Linked DNA regions of Homo sapiens: region 2 is linked to region 1. Evidence: promoter capture Hi-C in 16 types of primary human blood cells and fetal thymus (Javierre and others, 2016). All regions are on one chromosome and are shown on one strand. The core of a region is centred on a gene start or on the middle of the fragment in contact, and the rest is flanking DNA. Distances in the headings are between cores, read along the strand shown.

Region 1 (7,954 bases), core at 1-2,500:
CAGCCCGCTACAGGATACGTGATGGACGCCCAGAGACACCGCCCTCCAGCTGGTGGGGGAGGAGCCCCAGCCACCAAGAAGTTAAGTGACTGGCCCAGTTCACACAGCAAGCTAGTGGCTGTGTGCGTGTCCGGGGTCCTCATGGGCCCCAGGCCTGCAATGCGTACGCCCCTTCCCCTGGCTCTGCCTTTGGGGTCTCGGACGCCCGACTAGCACTTTGGTTAAAATGAGAGGAGGACGGGCGCCTGCAGCCTGCCCGGTGCTGTAGCTTTGCGGCCGCCCCGGCGCCTGTGTAATCCGAGGCGTGGCGCGCCAGGTTTTGGCCTGCGAGGGAGCGCACGTGGGCTGCGGCTTCTCGCGGACGCCCAGGCCCCACCCACCCGGGACCCGGCGCGCGGCGCCCCAGTTTGACTTTCACTACCCCCAAAGGAGGTCTTTCCACCGGCCTCTTTTCTGGGTAACAGCTCCAGGGCTCACACTTGGTGACCCCACCGAGGTCAAGTAGCCGCTAAGTTACGGAGCCGGAATTCGAATTTGGCGGTCGGGCTTCTGGTGGCCTCGGGACGGAGGTGGCTGTGTGTCCCTGGGCAAGTCTCTTTCCTTCTCTGGGTAGCCCAGTCGGGCGCCCCGCCTGTCGTCGCCGCGCATGCTCAGTTGCGGGCGGCGTCCGGAGGAGGTGGCGGGCGCCCCAGCTGCTTTGCATTGACGCCAGCACCCGCTGGAGGTCACCGCTGGGGGCTCGGCGCGGCACGCTGCCGGCAAAACCCGGCCCGGATCACGGAGCCGGAGCCGGAGCCGTACCGCCAGCAACTCCTGGGTGCGCGCAGCCGTTTCTGCGCTTCTCGACGGTGCGGCCCCAGGCCCCGCTGGAGCCGAGCTGCTCCCCTCCCTACCCTGGCGGACGTGGCCCGGCCGCTCCGAGGGGTTTCCCTCGGACCCCGCGCCTAAACCCCGGCCAGCGGGAGCGTCTAAGGCTAGCCTTGTACCCCACCGGCACTCGGCCTGGGGGGGCTTTTCCGCGAGGCGGCGGCCCAGCGGGCGGAGCGGCGTGGGTGTCCACATCTAGGCGGAGTCTGGAGCCGGGGAGGCGGCGGCGGCGGCGGCGGGAGCGGGGCCGGGCGCGGCCGGGAGCTCGCCTCCCCCGGGGGTCGTGCCGCAGCTCGGCGAGGGCAGCGTGGCTCGCGCGGCGTGGACTCAGCCGCTCCTGGGTAAGGAGAGCGCAAATCTCCTCCCCCTATTTCCCCGGAAGCGCGGCCGAGGCGAGCCCGGCGATGTGAGAGGCGGCCGTCGGCTCCTGCCTCAGGAAGGGCATGTTCGGAGGGGCGGCCTCGGCACGCCACCCGCCTAAGCGCCCCCTTCCCACCGCAGCCGCCGCCGCCGCAGCGCCCGCACCGCGATAAAAGGGGCGGCCGCGTTTCCTGACGCGAGATCCGCGCTCGCCGCCGCCCGCCCAGGCGGCGATGACACGGCGCCCGCGGCGGCCCGGAGGCGCCGGGTGGGCCGTTTGCTGACCGGATCGCGGCTACCCGCCAGCGTGTCCGCGGCGCCGCCGCCAGCATGGGCTGTGCCCCGAGCATCCACATTTCCGAGCGCCTGGTGGCCGAGGACGCGCCTAGCCCCGCGGCACCGCCGCTGTCGTCCGGCGGGCCGCGCCTCCCGCAGGGCCAGAAGACGGCCGCCTTGCCCCGGACCCGCGGCGCCGGCCTCTTGGAGTCGGAGCTTCGCGACGGCAGCGGCAAGAAGGTAAGGGGCGCCGGGCACTCTGGGGCCGCCGCGAAACTCGGGCCCGGCCAGTAAGCAACTTTCCCGCAGGGGCCGGGCGGGGTCCCCCCCACCCGGCCTCGGTGCCCTCTTGTCCCGCTTTGGATGGTTCTGATTGACGCCAGTCTCCCGCCTTGCCGGGGCAGCGTTCAGAGAAGGACCGACCCAGGTCCCGCGACCCTGATTTCCTAGGGTTGCGATTAGGACGCCGCCTGTGTCGCGGCGTCGGTTTTTTGGACACATCCGACTCCCGGAGCGGCGGGGCCCGATGTGAAGTTGACTGAGGCGCTTGCATCAATTTCCTCTCCAAGAGCGGGTGTTTGAGGGAAACCCCCAGGATATTCTGGCGCGCCCCTGCAATGTTAAATCAGTGTGAACTTTGTTCTTTTCCTGTGGTAGAAAGGGAAGGGCGACTGGCCTCACCACTCTTTTCCCTCTGTCAGCTTTGCACATGCAGTTGCAGGTTACCATTTTCTTCGGGACTGCTAGAATGTAATCTGGAACATCAGCTTTGCTTCATTGCACATGTATTTGAGGTCCACGTTTATTAGCATACATACTGTATTTAAAGCATATGTAATTAGAAAATACTGTGAAACGCGATTTTTGAAGCATTCAGCAGAACAAAGTTAATCTTTTATTAAGCCGACTTACTGGGACATTTTGTGACTGGGGTTTTTTGTTTTTTTACATTGCGTGTCTTCTCCAGCGCATGTTGCCTTGGCTTATGTTTTGTCAAAGTTTCTGGGCTTAGTCTTTGTTGAGGTTTTCTAAAGGAAAGTTAAAAAGGAAAAAGAAAAACGTGATCATTAAGGCACACAGCAGCAGCTTTCCAGTTCTCTCATTTCAGAATTTAAAGCTGGAACTCATGCGTTGGTTTATGTTTTGTTAAACCAGTAAAAGACAACAACAACAAAATTCGTGCATGGCTGCAGATTGTTGGCTGTCATCCCTCTCATCACGACCAGTTTTTGAAAGAGTAATTTGCAAAATTTGTTTGATTTTTCCTTGCTTGCTGAGAACTGCTGAACCTCCGAAGTTTGAGGGATATAGTTTGATGTACTTTCTGTCTTACATTTCTAGCAGTCGTCATGATACTTTTTCTGTACGAAAGGGGAAAGTCTTTTTCAGTGTTGCATAACAGTTGATTTCCCCACCATTCCCATACCCTAAGTGAAAATTCAACTTTGTTCTGATTATCAGAAATTGAATTCCTTCTCCTATAGATTCTTTAAAGAAACCTCTGATGGTTTAGGCTTACTAACTCAAGGTGCTCTTAATATCAGTGTTAAGCTGTGTGTTAAGCCTACTTGGCTTTAAAAAAGTGTTACACAGGTGCATATGGAAACTTTAACAGCTTTCAAGTTTTCAGTCCAAATCTAACATTTTGCAGACTAATGTGATAATTTCAGATTACCAAAGTAGCCCTTTTATAGTGAGGGGCCTTTGTGTCTTACAGGCTTTTTTTGTGGTGGATTGGGTGTCCTAAAATTCACCTAGGTGTCTTGTAAGCCTCCCCAGTGCAGCAGCAGCTTGCTCTTGTGCTATCGCAGTGCCGTTAGGTCCCTGAGTTTTTAAGTACTTACTTCAACCATTCTTCTGTATTGGCAGACCATTGTCTTGTGTTGGGGGCTCAGAAAATACTTTCATCCTTAAAGTGCCTAACCCAGTGGCATACACATAGTAGGTACTAAATAAATGTTTACTGATTTCTTAAAAAATTGTTAACTGATTGATGAAACTTTTTCAGTCATTGGAATTTGATTTCATAAAGCCTCCTATGTAGACTTCAAAATAATAGTATTTCCAGAGCAGGAGTCAAATTATAAATTATAACACCACAACCACAGAAATAATAGCCCCATACTTGTTATTCATGAACTGTACATGTTGATATCTCATTTACAGTTATTTGCATTTAGGCATGTCAGATAGTAGAGCAGAGGTAAATGTCAGCATTTTTTCTAGTCTAATATTTTTTCTTTGAAAATGAATCTTTTTAAATTTTAAGATATTAACTATGCTCTGGAAATTCATGTTAGAGAAGGCAAACTGCTAGCAATTTAGCAAAATTAAATCATAAAATTAGTTTCTTTGTATTATCTCAAGATGCAATTTAATTCATTACAAAATTTCTTATTAAAACTGTAAGTCAGCATATCTTTAAGTGAATTTCAACAAGAAATTCATTGGGGGATGCTTTTATAGTCCTACAGCATTTAGTAAATACCAGTTTATCAGTGTGGGTGGGAGATTGATAACTAATTGCATTTTTAGGTTAAGCAGTATGTACTTTGCGTTAAAGTGTATCCTGCATGTGTTCTATGGAACAATATGTGGACTGTTAGTATTGTATGAGAAAAGAGTTCCGTGGTCTGGTAAGTTTTTGGGAAATACAGGTTGAATATCCCTAATCAGAAAATGAGAAATGTTCCAAAGTCTGTTTTGAGTGCTGACATGATGCTCAAAGGAAGTGCTCAATGGAGCATTTCAGAGTTTGGATTTTCAGATTAGGGATGCTGAACTGGTAAATATAATGCAGATATTCCAAAAGCCAAAAAAAAAAAATCCAAAACACTTCTGGTCTCAAGCATTTGGGATAAGAGATATGCGGCCTATACTGGCTCAGACTAAGTTCAACAGAGTTCTTTTATGTAGGGCTTGTCAGAGAACCTAATTTCTGAAAGTAATCTGTGAGTCTCCAAGTGGTTTTTAGAGTGTGCATCATTTCCTAAACTAGTTGATTGTGGAGCCCTTTTCTTGAGGTGTATGTCAGGCAGGCCACATGTTAAGACCTGATTCTTTATGTGAGATACCAATATTCAAAGTACAAGAAATATAATTAACAGTAAAACTCAACGAATGTAATTTGCTTCTTAATGATTCCAAAGGTACTTTAGATCTTGCAATATATTAGGCTGGGTTGTCTGTATGAACTTATTTAAGTATTACTAAAAATACCCTCTGTCTGTTTATTCCTTTCGGGAGTTTAAGTTTATGTGGTTACAGATAATGAATGCTGTGTTCAGTTTGAACACTTAGAGTTTTGTTTATTTTTAATCAGTGTGAGTGAGCCTTAACTGTAACATTTTAATATTTTCTTGCCAGTCTTTGGATTTACCCCATTTCCACTTTCCCTAGCCAGGACTTGAGTTGCCCTTGAAAGATTTGCATGTAGTGTTAGAGACCCTATGCTCACCCCCTATCTTCCTTTTTGCAAACACCCACTGCACTGCTAATGATTGATGCTCCCCACACCCCAACTAATCAACTCTGTGAGATGGCAGTCATGTTTGTTTTGTTCACTGCTGTATCCCCCAGGCCTGATGCACAGTAGGCCTTCCGTAAACGTATGTTGAATTAGAGAATTTTGTGAACCAGGCTGTCAAGTTGAAAATCCACCCAGGCCAGGTAAGTAGAAATAGAAGCCAGTTTTAACCAGAGTAGAGGCTGTAAAGTTTGGATTTGGTTTTGTGGAAATCTCTGGTTATTGCTCTTCAGAGCACTGTACCCAGGGAATAATATATTTCTACCCTGTTGAGCAGAGTAGATTTCCCTGTAAAGAAAGATTAAAGAGGCTGGGCGCGGTGGCTCATGTCTATAGTCCCAGCACTTTGGGAGGCCAAGGCAGAAGGATTGCTAGAGCCCAGGAGTTTGAGACCAGCCTGGACAACATCTCAAGACTCTGTCTCTACCAAAAAATAAAAAAAATTAGCTGGGCATGGCACCGCACACCTTTAGTCCCAGATACTTGGGAGGCTGAGGTGGGAGGATCACCTGAGGTAAGAAGTTCAAGGTTGCTGTGAGCCGAGAGTGCGTCCCTGCACTCCAGCCTGGGCAACAGACAGAAACCCTATCTCAAAAATAAATAATAAATAAAAGATGTAAGGATTAGTGCAGCTAAGGTGATAGATAATAGTACAGCTGCAAGCCAACCTCTAATCGAGTGTTACTGCTGTCAGCACTCACTTAAAATCTCAGACATTCTCTAGTTGGTCCATTTCTGTTTCCCTTTGCTTCTGTCATTCACTTCCTTCAACCTCTTTTCTCTTACTTTGCATCACCTCCCGTCCCACTTCCATCTTCCTCCTTGCTTTTTTCTGCTAGCCCACCTTCCTGCACAAAACTGGCCACTCTTGCCATCTTAGTCAACTAAAGTTTAGTGGTTTCCAAATGTTACTTAAGTAACATTTGGAATGGAATAAAATTTATTGCCTGCTCCTAGTTTACAAAGTGGATTAGTCAAAACTTTTTTTTTTTTTTTAAGACAGCGTCTTGCTTTGTTACCCAGGCTGGAGTGCAGTGGCACAACCATGGCTCACTCAGCCTTGACCTCCTGGGCTCAAGTGATCCCCCCACCTCAGCCTCCCAAGTAACTGGGACTACAGGTGCGCACCATGCATGGCCAGTTTTTTAAACTTTTTTTTTGTCGAGACGAGATCTTGCTGTGCTGCCCAGGCTAGGCTCAAACTCCTGGGCTCCTGTGATTCCCCCAGCCTCAGCCTACCAAAGTGCTGGGATTACAGGTGTGGGTTACTGTGCCCAACTGATTACTCAAAATTTTACATTTGGCTAAACTAAAGCAATTTTCTCTTTGTGTGTGACCTGACTGATTTTTTTCCTCCAGTAGGGGTCTTTGACCCTTGCTAGATTATATGGAATTACTGAAAGTTTCCTTTGAAAGTGTAGTTGAGAAAAATGAGACCAAACTTTCTGCTGCCATAGTAAGTGACTACAGTTTATCTCTAGAGCTCAGGGGTTGTGAGTTCCCTCATTGTGTTCTTGTGCTTTTCAGTATATAGAAAGATATTTCTTTATTCATTTTCTTGAATTCCTTTTACATACATAAAATACTTTGCATTTATAGCATATGTTTTTTAGTACTTACTGTCATTGCCACCATAACTTTAAGTGTGATTCTTAAGATAGACATTGTCACAATTCTGTTACCTGAAACCTGTCCCTGACCAGCTTTGACCCTCGCCTTGCTGAGGTAAGGTTTATGATAGGGCCTGTGGTCCCTTCTGGCGCAAATGTTTCCTGTGAAGTGGCTTATGACTGGTTTTCCCTTGGATAGCTTACCCATTTGGATTGGTTCCTTTTTTTTTTTTTTTTTTTTTTAAAGACAGTTTTTTGCTCTTGTTGCCCAGGCTGGAGTGTAATGGTGCGATCTCAGCTTACCACAACCTCCGCCTCCCGGGTCGAAGCAATTCGCATGCCTTAGCCTCCCGAGTAGCTGGGATTACAGGCTTGCACCACCATGCCCGGCTAATTTTTTTTTTGTATATTTAGTAGAGATGGGGTTTCTCCATATTGGTCAGGCTGGTTTTGAACTCCTGATCTCAGGTGATCTGCCCACCTCGGCCTCCCAGAGTGCTGGGATTACAGGTGTGAGCCACCGCGCCCGGCCTTGGATTGGTTCTTAAATAGGAGAAGGTTCATGATGTGAGGACACAGGGTGAGGCAGACATCCCAGAGTAACCTTAAAGGACAGAATATTTTAAAAAATTTTAAAAAAAAGAACAGAGGGATAAGTACTTAGGACATGAGTAAGCCCTCAGTCTTACCCAAGCTTAGTGGCTTCATCCTGGTTTCTCAGTACACTGAGGCAGTAGGAGGTGATGGATTCTGCAGTTCTTAGAGTGCAAACTATTCATATTAATAATAGCCACCATTTCTTGGATGCCCTCTGTGTTGCAAGCACCATGTTAGATGCTTTAAAGATGTTATCTCATTTAATCCTTTCAACCCTGTGAGGTGGCAGGTATCATTTCCCTTTAGCAGATAAGACACCAGAGGTTAGAAACTTGTCCGAGGTCATACATTTAAGCTGAGATTCAAATCCACTGGTCCTGGCTCTCACCTGTTAGGTTGTTGCTCTCTGTTAACTAGCTATGTTCATTGCATTTCCCATTCTTTGGTCTTCTGCTAAGCTACAGATTTCACAGGACAACTGGGTTTTAAGCAGGCATCTTGAATCTGCATTATCAGGATTTTGTTAAGTTTCGACTTACTGTGGAAGTTGGTTACAGCTCTACCTTAGGTTCCTGTGTTTGAGGAAGTTGAAGTCATCTTCAGCCCTGTGCCAGTTAACTCCTGAAGCTAGATATTTTGTGACGCCCTCTGAATCTGCCCTCTTTGCTGTCTGAAATGAGTTGGGAGGGCATCCCTTGGGAGTTTTTTTCCTTTCCCC
Region 2 (7,954 bases), core at 2,935-5,434, 3.5 Mb after region 1:
GAGTCAAGGGAACACACACTGGCTACCGACATTTCGTTAGCAGGTACTTGTGCTGATGGGAGGGCAGGTAAAGTGGCTGTGCACCACCAAATCCATTTAGTCAACATTCAACAAATGCCTATGTGCCAGGTACTTTGCTGAAAGCTAGGATCAGAGAGAGGAACAGATACTGCCCACATGTTTAAGGAAGTCAAAATTCTGACTAGGGAGAAAAATGTGTTAGTAAACAATTATAGTGCAATGGCATAAGTGAAAGAATGTATTCTCCACTAGAACACAAGCTCCTAGGGAGTAGGGTAGTGTCCTGTTCATCACTGAGACCCTATATGTCTGTTGCATAAATGGAATAAGGACACACACCAGTGCTACGGGAGCCTAGAGAGAGGAGTAGCTCTGTCTTCCTGAAGGCTCAGGAAAGGTTTCACCACATACGGTATAATGTATAAACTGTCTTAAAAACTGAGCAGTCAGGCCAGGAAGGAGTAAAGTATTTCATCAGGGACCAGCAGGCCCCAAAGCAGAGACACATGAAAGACCATACTATTCAAGGAATGCAAAAGGTTTGTTAAGTTAGAACTTGAATTTTACATTAATGAACAGCAAGACGGCAGACTGATGAGACTGGGATCAGGGCAAATAAGATTTGCAGGCCATGCTTGACAGTTAGAATTTTTATTGGAAACCTTTTAAGAATTCCATGCAGAGAAGTGACAAGGGATGTGTGTTTCAGAAAGCTCATTTTGGCAGCACTGAAGGGCACTCCACAAAACCAAGGTTAAACTTACTGGGCATCTAATTCAATAGCTCAGTATAGTACTTCTCAACCACTGTAATTTGCTCCCTGGGAAATATCTGGCCATGTCTAGAGATATTTTTGGTTACTGCACTGGGGGTGGGGTCAGGGGATGAGGTAGTGCTACTGGCATCTAGTAGGTACAGGCCAGAGATACTGCTAAACATCCTATAACACAAAGAATAGCTCCCCACACTTATCCGACCCCAAACACCAATAATGCCAGAGATGGGAAACCCTAGTCTAGTGAGAAGTGAAGAGGGTCACAGCTAAAGCTGTTAGAACAAAGAGGGGACTATTTAGAACAGATCACGAGGGACTCAAGGACTTATGGATGTGGGAATGAGGTCAAGGACAATTCTGAGGTTTCAAGTTGAGTGAACAGATAAGCAGTGATGGCAATAAGCAGTGCTGCAAAGATAAGAAGACAAGCAGGCTGAGAAAATGGTAGAAATATCAATTTTGAATGTACTAAATTTTAAAATCTCAGTGGAACAAAGGATTCTCACCTGGTCTAAAAATAAAAATAAAAAAAAAATAAAAAAAATCCTTACCTGGGTTTTTCTGGCTGAAATTTTTATAAACTTCAAAATTTCCATTAACCTTCCCACCCCCACCCTTAATCCAATTCCCCAGTCAGCCTAAAAATCCTCTGGCTGAGTCTGAAGTGAATTTTGTGGAATTTAGAGGAAGGCAGAAAACCCACCTGAGAGTGTGGCCAGGGTTCGTTCAGCTGTTCCTCGAAGGGTCTCCCCAGGCTGCCACTCTGCCTGGGGCAGTATCCAAACATCCTGGTCTCCAAACTTCTCTCTGACTAACAGGACAAGGTTCCTGTCTAGCTTCCTGTTCAGGGATGTTCGGTCATTCTTTTCATCAGCTTCTACAGCAAAGGGGGTCAGAGGAGGTAAGAAGACTGTGATCTGCCAGAACCAAGAAACCTGGAGTTTTACAATCTTCCTTTAAGATCCACAATCCTTGCCCTCAAAGAGCTTAGAACCAAATTACACCTCGACCCATCTCTCTAACTCTGACCTCTTCCAGGGAAGAGTCTCACAATCTTGAGGAAACTAAAAGGTAAGAAATCAAGAGGTAAGCTTCTTTGAACAGCAAACCATATTTTGAGTCTTCAAAAAAGAAACAATGATCATACTAATTCAAACACAACTACTTCATTGGTTTTGATACTATTACTGACTTAACTAGCCCCTACTTTCTCTGTTCTTCAGTCTTCATCTGTGAAACAAGGAAAACAGAACTCAATCTCCCGCTTTAAGAGGGATTTCACATAAAACACAGGAATTAGTGGAAAAAGGCTTCATTTGCCCCACTCTCAGTCTCAAACTTGGAGTTAAACACAGATAACATTCACAAAGTTTAACTGAGAGAAAAGGCTATTCCAATACCCTTACCTCTCACCCGAAAATAAGACAGACTTTTTAAGTCGTATTATGGTAGATGTGAGCAACAAAGAAAAGAATATGAAATTATTTGTTACTTAAAACACAAAGCAGGGGCCAAGCAACTGTCTTTTATTTGGGAATCCAAATACCCCTTTTCCCTTCCTTCTGGCTGGCCTAAAAGGATCACAACCTGTTATGCGAGCTCCAAGTTTGAACTGTAGAAATTTCTGCTCCCACATATCTTCCAAATCTTGCGCCAGCAATATATCCTGTTCATCTTCTTCATCATGAAGGTCAGCTTTCTTCTTTGCCAGTCGCTGGTTTTCATCCAGAGCACGAAGCTCGTGGTCTGAATACAGGCTTCTCTCTATCTCAATCTGGGAAAATTCAAAGGGCAAAAAACTACCTTAATCTGGCAAAATTAAAAGGAAAAAAAAAACAGGAAGAATAAAACAGAGACATGGCACACTTGGCAAGCTCAGAAGTTTATCACCCAACATAACCAGATACACAGTCAAAACACCATGCAGAAAGGAAATGGAGGGAAAAAAAGGTCCTCTGAACTTTGGGCTTGAGTTACATTTGCCAAAAATGTTACAATGTCACTGGGGGTCAAGAGTGCTACAAAAACAGAGAGCTGGGTTGGGCAATGCCTGCTGACTCACCACAATCCAGTCATGTCAGTCTTTGATCAGAATCTCACTCACCAAGGACTTTCCTGTTCAGGGACTTTCAAGAGGTTGTTCCTTCTTCCTAGAATGTTTTTCCTCACATTCTTTCTTCTGGGAGAGTCCTACTCATCTTTCTGATTTCAATTTAAATATGACTGTCTCAGAGAGACATTTCTCATAAAGAGAAAAACCTGTATTCAGAAAGTCTGAGGCATTCCTTGACACTCACCATAAAATCAAAATGTGATGTATTTGTTAAACACTCTTATAGTGCCTTGTGTTTTCCTTAACAACACTTATCAGGGTCTGCATTTAGTTGTATGATTATTTGGTTACTGACTGATCCCCTCACTCAACTAGACTGAAGTACTCTGAGAACCAGAGCTACTTCTGCCTTATTCATTACAGCATCTCTATCACTTAACATACTCTCTGATGCATAGTATGGGCACAATGAACATCTGTAGGTTGAGTAACAAATATTTGTCAAGCGAGCGAGTAAATGAATAAATCAAGCAAAAAGCACAGAAGAGAAGTTTATAGTTCTCAACAGACCAAGACAAAAACATCTCGGATTCTGAGGAAACATATCACCCTTCAAACACTTTCTGTAGCGACCTCACACCTTCACAGCCACTACACTGTTTTTGCCCATGCTTCCTCACTTGCCCCTCACACAGATAGCCCCATGAGATAAAACAGAGTAGGCTTATCATAGGCATCTGACAGATGTGCCCACCGCCTCTTGTATTTCCTTCTTAACATTCATCACATCACAAAGACTTTCTCCCTCCAGACTTGTAAGCTCCTAGTGACACGGACCGATTCTTGTTCACCACAGGATCCCTATTGTGTTGCATGAACAAGAAGTAGAGTATCTCCAAAGAGTTGTCTAAGGTGACAATAAACACGGCCAATGAAAAGAAACCACTTTTTGTTGAACATCTATGTACCAAACCAAGTCAGTAAGGTAGGTACCATTCTGCGGATAAGTACCGTATACTTAAGTTCAGAGAGGTGAAATTACTCGCTCAAAGTCACGCAGAATAAACGTCACTCTGAACCCTGCATCTCAGTCCCACCTGCTGCAGTAGAGACGCCATCTCTTCCTGCAATGGGGTCAACGGCTTGGAGACTACAGGTGGCCGCTGCAGGCACAACGCGCCCAACAAGCGCCATGGGGATCCGTTGCTTGAGGGTGCGGCTGCAAGAGCCAGGCTGCGAGAGCTTAGACTGCCGGCCCAGAGCCTCTCGAACCGCCGCCAACCCCCCGCCACCCCTAACAGCGTCCGCCTTACGGGCGCCGCCATCTTTCGTTCTCCCACAATGCACCGCGGCTCCCAGGGATCCCTCAGCCGCGGGAGCGGCAAACTAGGGGAAAGCTCAGTCCCGGAACTGCTAGAACGAACCATTCGCATATGGAGGGGGTGACCCACCATCTCAGAACATTAAAAAAGGGAAAGAATCCCCTGGTGAACTACAGTGAAAGTCTTATTGAGCATTTAAATGGAAATAAAAATATTCAGTGGACCTAATGAAGAGTAGATGACTTTCCCTTCTGTCCCCTCCCCGACAGGCACTCATGGTACCGGCGCCGGCGCAGCTGTGACTGTCGCTGCAGACGGAAACTGACTGGGGTCAATTCAAGTCATGCAGGCTGTGAGAAACGCGGGGTCGCGGTTCCTGCGGTCCTGGACTTGGCCCCAGACAGCCGGGTAACAAATGACTGCCCCCTCGAGCCCACCGCCACCTCCAGGACTATGCTCCTACTCGTGTCCCTTGAGCCACCCGGGCCCCAGTGACCGTTAGGCCGTGGCCCTCACCGAGCTTTTCTTCCCAGCAGGGTCGTGGCCAGAACGCCGGCCGGGACCATCTGCACAGGCGCTCGACAGCTCCAAGACGCTGCGGCCAAGCAGAAAGTTGAACAGAACGCGGCTCCCAGCCACACCAAGTTCAGGTGAGCCCCACTTGGACCAGCCCTCTGGAGACCCGCAACCCCTGACTCTTGCCCGACACCCTCCAGAGTCAGAACCAGTGAATTTTCAGCTATGTCACTTGCTATCCGTGGGACCTTATGCAAATAAATCTGAGCCTCAGCCTTCTCATCTAAAAATGCGGATAATGCTGAGAGAGGTTGTGAGAATCAGATGAGCCGTGGTACAGAGTAAATGTTCAGTGAACATTCGTTAAATCAATGAGTGAATGTGAGATATCCATAACATGTATCAGCGTTCTTTTCTTCTGAGATGGAGATCTTTTCAGACCAATAACCTTCCCTGCCTCCAAAACAAAATGGGGAGGTAGAGGGCGCTAGCGATGGAACAGATGTTCCTGCACGTCTTACGGATGGTCCAGGGTGGGTTTTGTGCTCAGCCCTAGGAACTGGCATCTTGCTTCCCACCAGTGCCACCACCTCTGTATGCTGTATACACATCCACTTAACTTCACATCCATTTAACAAACATTTACCAAGAATCTACTATGAGTGAGACACCATGCTAGGTGCCGTGAATACAGATACAAAAGATCATTCCTCCCCACAAGTAGTTCACAGTCTTTGAGGGAAGACAAACATGCAAACATTTTAACCATAATCTGCTCAATAATATAATGGAGGTAAGCATTGGTTGGAAGTATGAAATCATAAGTGTCTAACTCCTGGCCGGGTGCAGTAGCTCATGCCTTTAATCCCAGCACTTTAGGCGGCCAAGGTGGGCGAATTACTTGAGGTCAGGAGATCGAGACCAGCCTGGCCAACATGGCGAAACCCCGTCTCCACTAAAAGCACAAAAACTAGCCAGGCGTGATGTCTGGCACCTGTAATCCCAGCCACTCAGGAGGCTGAAGTAGAAGAATCGCATGAACCCAGGGAGCGGAGGTTGCAGTGAGCCAAGATCACGCCACTGTACTCCAGCCTGGGTGACAGATTGAGACTCTGTCTCAAAGAAAAAAAAAAAAAAAAAGAATAAGTGTCTCATTCCTGAGGAAATCAGGCAAGACCATGGAGAAAAGAACATGGAGCTCAGAAGTGAATGGGAGTTCATCTGGACAAGTTGAAGTGGGTCATTGGAGACAAAGGTAACCATCTGTGTAAAGGCATGTGGTATGAAAAAACATGGTGTGTTCAGGTGTGTATGTGATGGCAGATGAGGCCAACAAGACAAGAAGGCATCAGAATGCCAGGGGTCTTGTCTGTCACACTGGAGCTTTTACGCTGTCCCCACTGAAGGCAGTGAGGAGCTGCTGAAAGCATCTAAACCAAGATTCTGTTGTAGTCATTTCTTCAACAATGCCAGGCACTGTTCAGAGTGTTGGGGATATATCCCTGACCAAACAGACAAAAAGCCCTGCCCTCATAGAACTTAAATTCCAGTGGGTAGAAGACAGTAAATAGAAAACAAGTAAAATGTAGGAGTATAACGGTTGGAAAGGGGAAGTGGGGGTCAAGCAGGCCTGCATAGCCACATTCTGTAGGACTTTGTAGGCCGTTGTGAGGACTTCAGCTTTTACTGTGAATGAAATGGGAGGCCAATGGAAATTGCTGAATAAAGGGTTGACATGATCTTGCTGACAAGATCTTGTAAGCTCTTTGGCTGCTGTGTTGATATTAAACCATTGGAGAGCAAGAATGGAAGCTGGGAAAAGTCCTCTAAGCAGTTAGAAGACTATTGAAATAATCCAGACAAGAAACAATGGTGGCTTGGACCATGGTTATTGCCATGGAGGTATTATGAATGGTCTGACATATTTTGAAGGTAGAACAAGCAGGATTTGTTAATATACAGTGTGAGAAAAAGGAGCGAAGGAAGACCCCAAATTTTGTTGGCCTAAACAACTGGAAAGACGGAGTTGTCATTGATTAAGATGGGGAAGACTGCAGGAGTTTGGATGGGAGTTGTTAAGGTTGAGATTCTTAATAAACATTCAAGTGGAGACACAATGTAGACCATTAGAAATGGAGCTCAAGGGCCGGGCGCGGTGGCTCACACCTGTAATCCCAGCACTTTGGGAGGCCGAGGCAGGCGGATCACCGGGTCAGGCATTTTAGACCAACCTGACCAACATGGTGAAACCCCGTCTCTACTAAAAATACAAAAATTAGCCAGGTGTGGTGGCGTGGGTCTATAATCCCAGCTACCCAGGACGCTGAGGCAGGAGAATCACTTGAACCCCGGAGACGGAGGTTGCAGTGAGCCAAGATCGTGCCACTGCAGTCCAGCCTGGACGAGACTCCATCTCAAAAAAACAAACAAGCAAAAAAAGAAATGGAGTTCAAGAGTCAGACTTCAGACTTTAGCTAGAGATATACAGTTGGGAGACATCATAGAGATGATATTTAAAACCATGAGATGACAAAATCATTAATACCATAAATGTAGATGAAGAGAAGAGGTCCAAGGACTGAACCCTGGGGCGCTTTCACATTTAGAGATTTGGGAGACTAGGAAGAACCATCAGAAGAGACAAGGAACTTCCAGAGAGGTAATAGGAAAACCAGGAGAGAACATTTGTTTTTTAATTTGGCTCAAGGTGGGGAGATCAGCTGTGTCAAATGCTGCTGATGTGATAGGTTGCTAGATCAATAACAGAATTGCCTATTATATTTAGTAATGTGGAGTTAGTTGGATTAAAGCATTTTTGGTGGAGTGGTAGAGGCTAATATCTGATTGAAATGGGTTCAAGGAGAATAGAAGCAGAGGATAGGAAGAAACAGCAAGTATAGTCAGTACCTTAAAGTTCCTTAAGAGGGCTCTGCTATAAGGGAATAGAGAAATGGACAATAGCTCCCAGGAGGTGGGTTCAAGAGGTTTTCGAGGGTTGTTCTGTTATTTTTTCAGTTTGGAACATAACAATATGTTTTGCCATTGGGAGCAGTGCAGTATAGAGGGGAAAAAACAAGTGATACTGGAGTGGGAACATTGCGGGAACAGTGTCCTTCAGGGGCTAATACACAAGTGGAGCACTGTAACAGGAGAGAGCGCAAAGGCTGTGGGCACAGATGTTCAGTAGTGGGAGCTGGGAGAAAGTCTGATTGCTTCTATTCCCCTGTGGAGGTCATCCGCTCAGCAATGAGGAAGCAGGGAGTTGGA

Evidence for each region. The method cuts DNA at HindIII sites, captures the fragments that hold promoters and counts their contacts. A CHiCAGO score of 5 or more calls a contact.
Region 2: the fragment with the promoter of MRPL46 here is called in contact with the fragment with the promoter of PDE8A in region 1 in 1 of 17 cell types (monocytes); the score reaches 5.7 in monocytes.

What each region holds. Positions count from the first base shown.
Region 1 is chr15:84,980,606-84,988,559 of GRCh38, forward strand. It overlaps PDE8A (phosphodiesterase 8A), which reads left to right and starts at 1,251. Exons shown (of 22, transcript NM_002605.3): 1 at 1,251-1,743. The coding sequence starts at 1,558. RefSeq lists silencers at 313-362, 683-1,172 and enhancers at 900-1,432, 7,323-7,412, 7,443-7,532. The HindIII fragment of the contact is 13,609 bases long and covers 1-7,331 here.
Region 2 is chr15:88,463,204-88,471,157 of GRCh38, forward strand. MRPL46 (mitochondrial ribosomal protein L46) reads right to left here and starts at 4,185. Exons shown (of 4, transcript NM_022163.4): 1 at 3,947-4,185; 2 at 2,384-2,570; 3 at 1,500-1,673. The coding sequence starts at 4,174. MRPS11 (mitochondrial ribosomal protein S11) reads left to right here and starts at 4,505. Exons shown (of 6, transcript NM_022839.5): 1 at 4,505-4,579; 2 at 4,705-4,821. The coding sequence starts at 4,515. RefSeq lists enhancers at 2,520-3,719, 4,186-4,355. The HindIII fragment of the contact is 6,788 bases long and covers 1,886-7,954 here.